Regions from separate parts of the Homo sapiens genome. Here region 1 is linked to region 2. Evidence: promoter capture Hi-C in 16 types of primary human blood cells and fetal thymus (Javierre and others, 2016). All regions are on one chromosome and are shown on one strand. The core of a region is centred on a gene start or on the middle of the fragment in contact, and the rest is flanking DNA. Distances in the headings are between cores, read along the strand shown.

The links. The method cuts DNA at HindIII sites, captures the fragments that hold promoters and counts their contacts. A CHiCAGO score of 5 or more calls a contact.
Region 1: a fragment that was not itself captured here is called in contact with the fragment with the promoter of LINC02694 in region 2 in 3 of 17 cell types (naive CD4 T cells, non-activated CD4 T cells and activated CD4 T cells); the score reaches 6.2 in naive CD4 T cells.

The regions. Positions count from the first base shown.
Region 1 is chr15:38,640,704-38,643,675 of GRCh38, reverse strand. No RefSeq gene overlaps it. Among named protein-coding and RNA genes, the nearest start is that of LINC02694, 54 kb to the left of the region's middle. The HindIII fragment of the contact is 2,397 bases long and covers 65-2,461 here.
Region 2 is chr15:38,694,707-38,697,849 of GRCh38, reverse strand. It overlaps LINC02694 (long intergenic non-protein coding RNA 2694), which reads right to left and starts at 1,252. Exons shown (of 2, transcript NR_160786.1): 1 at 1,111-1,252. RefSeq lists an enhancer at 1,093-1,142. The HindIII fragment of the contact is 8,690 bases long and covers 1-3,143 here.

The DNA.
Region 1 (2,972 bases), core at 14-2,513, 54 kb after region 2:
AATCTGGTTTTCAACTCCATCTTCTTTTCTGGGATCTAGGGATTTCCTTTTTTTCTGGCAAGCTTAGCAAATATTTCAAAAAAATTTTTACACACCTTATTTGGCTTCTCTCACAATTTGTAGCGGGAGAGTTTCAGGTTATCTTAGTCTACCCTTTTGCCAGAACTAAAGATATTCTGTGTATTTGGGGTACATGCACATATGCACAATAGCTTGTGTTATGCACGTGCAAAACATGCACATAAACTAACAACGCCCACAATTCCATAAGGTCAAATTTCTATAAGAAATTTCTTATTATATAATAACAAAATCACTCATAGTTGTTTCTCCTTCTCTGATTGAACCCTGACTAATACAAAAATTGGTACTAAGAGTGGTTTTGTTGTTTGCTTCTAAATGTGCTTGAAAATGTGTAGAAAACAAAAAAACAGCTCAGGACTAAATTCCCAGCTCAAGATCTACATAAGGGGCCTCAAATATATGACTACCCTAAAAGAAACTTTTATCTTCTTCTGCCTTAGGGCTAAGATTTTCAAAAGCCACACCCAAAGTCTAGAACAGCAGGTGGCTGACTTACAATGCAAATTGACTTCCCTTCCTCATAGAGTCTCCTATGTTAAAGTTAGGATATTAACTGGTAAAGAGGCTGAGTGTAGTGGTTCACACCTGTAATTTAGCACTTCAGGAGGCTGAGGCAGGAGAATTGCTTGAGGCCAGAAGTTCCAGAACAGCCCAGACAACACAGCAAGACCGCATCTCTACAAAAAAAGTTTAAAAAATTATTCAGATGTAGTGAAGCATGACTGTAGTCCCAGCTGCTCAGGAGGCTGACGTGGGACAATTGTTTGAGCCCAAGAGTTTGAGGCTGCAGTGAGCTATTTTACTACTGCACTCCAGCCTGGATAACACACTGAGACATTATCTCTAAAAGTATTTTTTAGGCAGGGCACAGTGGCTCACGCCTGTAATCCCAGTACTTTGGGAGGCCCAGGCGGGTGGATCACAAGGTCAGGAGATCGAGACCATCCTGGCTAACATGGTGAAACCCTGTCTCTACTAAAAATATAAAAAAAATAGCCGGGCGTGGTAGCAGGCACCTGTAGTCACAGCTACTCGGGAGGCTGAGGCAGGAGAATGGCATGAACCTGGGAGGTGGAGCTTGCAGTGAGCTGAGATCGCGCCACTGCAACCCAGCCTGGGTGACAGAGCGAGACTCCGTCTCAAAAAAAAAAAAAAACAACAACAAAAATAACCAATACTTTTTAATTGATAGAGAATGCAATCCTGAGTATTGGGATGTGAATATATGGGTAAATCCTAATGAAGCTGGTAGATTCAAACCCCTTAACTCTCTTAACTCTCCTTTGCCAATAGAGGCAGCCCTTCTTCCCCTAAGGAGATTAGTCTCCTCTTATCTGAAGAGCCTATCATTACCTCTCCTGAGATATATTGCCTTGCTGGAACTCCTGAGATATTTTGCCTTGCTTGATCTTCCTCCAGCCCTAATCCCACCACCATTCACTGCTCCTTTACTAGACCTAAATCTCAGTGGGTTTCTGTGTGAAGAAGACTCATGTGGTCAAGATACAAAGTGTGACTTAAGAGGAGGTACAATAAACAACAAATGAACTGAATTATTTTACCAGTTTTCAACAACAGAAATCTAAGTAACAACCAATTCCCAACCTTGAGCCAGTTCACAGACCCAGAACTCCTTGAATAAAGAAGAGACTGAGTCCCCTTGAGTAAGGACCATGCTACCCAGACAAAAAATACAGATACTAAATCTTCCTCTTAGCTCTCCCCAAAGGGACTTATGGCCTTTATCCAGGAAATTGTGCATTGGAGAAGGAAAAATGATCAGGCTTTTCAGTGAATACTGGACATCCACTAATTACTGTAGATCTAAAGCACCACTGTGATCCATCAATCAGCAGGATTTTATGGAAGTCAAGCAATGAATGGGATTTTGGCTCAAGTCTGTCTCACAGTAGCCCTGGTGGGTACCCTAACCACTGACAAAAGCATCACTGTATGCCACTGAGGTTTTGTGGCTGTTTGTTATGCATTATTATTGTGACAGCTGATAACTGATATAATTAAGAATATTTAGGTGAGGCTAACAACTGTTAGAATGGTTATCACCAAAAAGGCAAAAGTTAATTTGCAAGGATGTGGAGTAAAGAGAAACCTCACAAACTGTTGATAGGAATGTAAATTAACACTACTATTATGGAAAACAGTATAAAGGTTTCTCAAAAAATTAAAAATAGAACTACCATATGATCCAGCCAGCAATCCCACTACTCGGTTTATATCCCAAGGAAATAAAATCAGCGTGTCAAAGAGATATCCTCACTCCCATGCTTGTTGCAGCATTATGCCCAAGAGCCAAGATATGGAATCAACCTAGGTGTCCATCAGTGGATGAAGAGATGTTTTGAATGAGGTATAAGCTTGTCTAACCTGTGGCCCATGGGCTGCATGCAGCCAAGGATGGTTTTGAATGCAGCCCAACACAAATTCGTAAACTTTCTTAAAACATTATGATTTTTTTTTTGCAATTTGTGTTTTAGCTTATGAGCTATTGTTAGTGTTAGTGTATTTTATGTGTGGCCCAAGACAATTCTTACTCTTCCAATGTGGCTTGTGGAAGCCAAAAGATTGGATACCCTTGTAGTATATATACACACAACGGAATACTATTCAGTCATAAAGGAGAAGGAAATCCTATCATTTGCAACAACACGATGAAACTGGAAGACATTATGTCAAGTGAAATAAGTCAGGCACAGAAAGATAAATACTGCATGATCTTACTCACATGTGAAATCTAAAAAAGTTGATCTCATAGAAGTAGAGAGTAGAACGGTGGTTACAAGAGACTGAGGTGATTGGGGTGGGTTGGGGAGATTGTTGGTCAAAGGCTGTGAAATTTCAGTTAGGAAGAAAAAGTTTATGAAATCTAT
Region 2 (3,143 bases), core at 3-2,502:
CACACAGCTAACCATGGAAAAGGACTTCTCTATGACTGCCAGCCACCAAGGAAATTAGGGACACCAGAGGCAAGAAAATTATGTTCAGTTACAAAATACATTCCATTTTATAGCCATTTCTATTATCGGTTGCTACTATAATAAATTACCAAAACTTTAGCAGCTTAAAACACACACTATCATTTAGTTCTATGGGCCAGAAGTCCTATGGGTCTCATAGGACTAAAATCAACGTCTCGGCAGGACAGCGTTCCTTGGTGGCAGCTCTGGGGGTGCATCACTATCTTTGCTCATTCTGGTCTTGACAGTTCCGTGGGACTGTAAGACTGAGGTCCTTGCTGGTTGCTAACTGGGGCCACCCTGAACTCCTAGAAGACATTTGCTCTGTCCTTACATAGAGTCCCTACCTCTCAGAACCAGCCACAGGGCATGGAATCCTTCTCTCATGGCCCTCTCTTTGACTCCAATTCCCCTAGCTGCATTTCTGTCTCTGACTGCACCCAGGGAAGCCTGTCTGCTTTTTAGGATTAGATTAGGCCCATTCGGATAATCCAGGATAATCTCTTTATCTCAAGATCCTTAATGTTAACCACACTTGCAAAATCCTGTTTGCTATTAAGATAACATATTTACAGTTTCTAGGAATGAGAATGTAAACATCTTTGGGTTGGGGGAGTGGGCATCTTTCTGTCTATCAAACTATTCACCAGGCATTTATTTACTATCTTAATGGCCAAGTACAGTGCTATGTGCTGAATTGATGTTGGTATAAGGGGCATGGGGCAGGGGAGAAAGTCTAGGATGGGTGATGCCCCCCACTGGGATATCTGACTTAGAGCTTTGCAGTACTCCAGGGGATGCTGTTGACATAAAATACAATGTAGATTGTAACTCTCACCTCTCACTCCCTTAACCCTCTTGACTCCCCAGTCCTTGCCCCTGACTTATACAGGCTGGAGGTGTCTGAATAAGGTCATTCCAGTTCTCTGGGAGGCAGGAGCTAAGCTCACCAGGGGACTGAGATCCAGGTTCAGCCATAGCAGAAACTGAGAACCCTGCTAGATCCAGGTTCAGCCATAGCAGAAAAAAACAGAGCAAGGTGGGACTTACAGCCATCCAAACAGACGCCTGGAGACAGATGCTGCTCCTGCCCTTAGCCTTGCTTCCTGGCCTGGTTTCATGGTTCCTCCGGGGACTAGAGAGGGAAATGCCCAGGTCCTCTTGGGCCCCTTGTAGCTCCATATCAGAACAGAAAACCTGTCACTAACTGAAGTCCCTTCCGGCTGAGGTACCCCGGCCTATATTTTGCAGCTCCAGGGCTCATCAGAGCCACCAATTTGCTGATGGGTTCTCAACCACAAGGATGGTGAGTCAGCACAGTGGTTGACTCTCAGCAGAGAGGATGCAGCCTTCAGCAGAGCTCCTGGTGGGGCAGCCTCCTGATCAGCCTGTGCTGTGGTCCTGCCCCTGCATTTCTTCCAGTCCTGGACGTCCCTGGCCTGGCTGGCACCCTAGTCGCACACCCAAGAAGCAGTTCAGCTTGCTGAGCACAGTGTTTCCCAAAACTGTGGCATAAGAGGTGAAGGATAGACCAGGGAGGAAGTCTTCAGCCCAGTCTGACAAACACAGGCCAACGTTTGGCCAACAGCAACTCAGGCTCTTTGCTCTAGGCCAAACTTGAAACATTAGTGTGCTGGTAGGTGTTCTGCCTTCCCTCCCTCTGCTCTAGAATTCAGATCTGGAAGCCAGGTCCTGACAGCTGGGATCCAGATGCAGTCCCCATCACAGCATCACATTCTGGCCAACCAGGCTTCCAGTGGCAGGAGCTGCCACCAGGAATGGGCACCAGTCCTCTCTCAGTTAAAAAGCCTTTGCTTCACACCACAAAACCCAAAGTGCCAGCTGTGGTGACAACCACTGCTCCTACCACTTAAAATTTGCTGGCAAGGGAGACTTTTAGAGAATGATTCCCCCACAAATATAGCATTCCTTTTTTTAATCTTTCCTGTACCCCTCTTAGGGCTAAGTTACTGATGATAGCCCTGCGTGATACAGAGCAAGCTGGCAGCAAGGAGGAAAATTGTCAGCAGTGACAAGCTCCAGATGACAGTTATGTGGCTTGGAAGGCAAGTCTTACTCTAAAGAGATCCTGCCCCCATCCCAGCTCTGGATTACTTGGTCTGATAGGTTTTACAGGGTATGACCCCAGTTTTCTGTTTAAGGACATTGGCCTCCAGATATGACTAGGAGGGAGTTTTCCTCTAATATCTTTCCGCAAAGATCACCATGACAATGACCAGAATAATAAATATCTATAATCACATGCAATCTTTAGCTTTAGTAATAGAGTGTGACAGAGAACTCTGCTGCTGCTGCTGCTGCTGCTGCTGCTGCTGCTGATAGTGATGGCGATGATAAGGAAGACACAAGATAATCTGACCTTCCTCAGCCTCTGATGGCTGATTACAGGTAGATGTGGCTTCTGAAGCAAAGTTACATAATTCACCTCTTGTTCCTGATCCACTTTTAGCAAAACTTCCGTGGAAAGGACCTTGTACCTTCTTGAAGTATCCAACATGCTGTCATCTTTATGTTTTCCTACCAAGTTCCCACATTTCTGCCTCAGTGGGTTCTACAGTCTGAACCCCAGAAACAATTTCATAGTTCAAACATCTGGCATGCTATTACATCAAAGGGATTGCAGATTCCCAACCTGGAATGGAAGAATCCTTGACTCCCCGCACCCGCCCCCCAATTCTGCTCTACCTCAAAACTGCCTACATCATCTCAACCACCCAAGTTTTGGGAAACGGGTGAATTCCCTCTTCCTTTTCATTGAGACTAGCCCAGGTCATAGACCCAATCTCTTTACTGGGGACTTAGGCTAATAATTTCGAGTACACAAAATCAATAGCAAAAATAAAGTCCCACGTTGCAGAACATCCTCAACTGAGGAGAGAGCTCATTGGTTGAGAGTGTTTGTAGTATCATGCACTGCCCAGGAATGCAGAGAACACGTAGTTCTGTTAGCTCTTATTGATTGAGAGTGGAAGACAGCTCTTGGAATGTAGGGAAAAACTTCTACGGATGTCATGGAAATAAAGATTCATGTTTTTTAAATAATGGAATCACAATGAATCAGA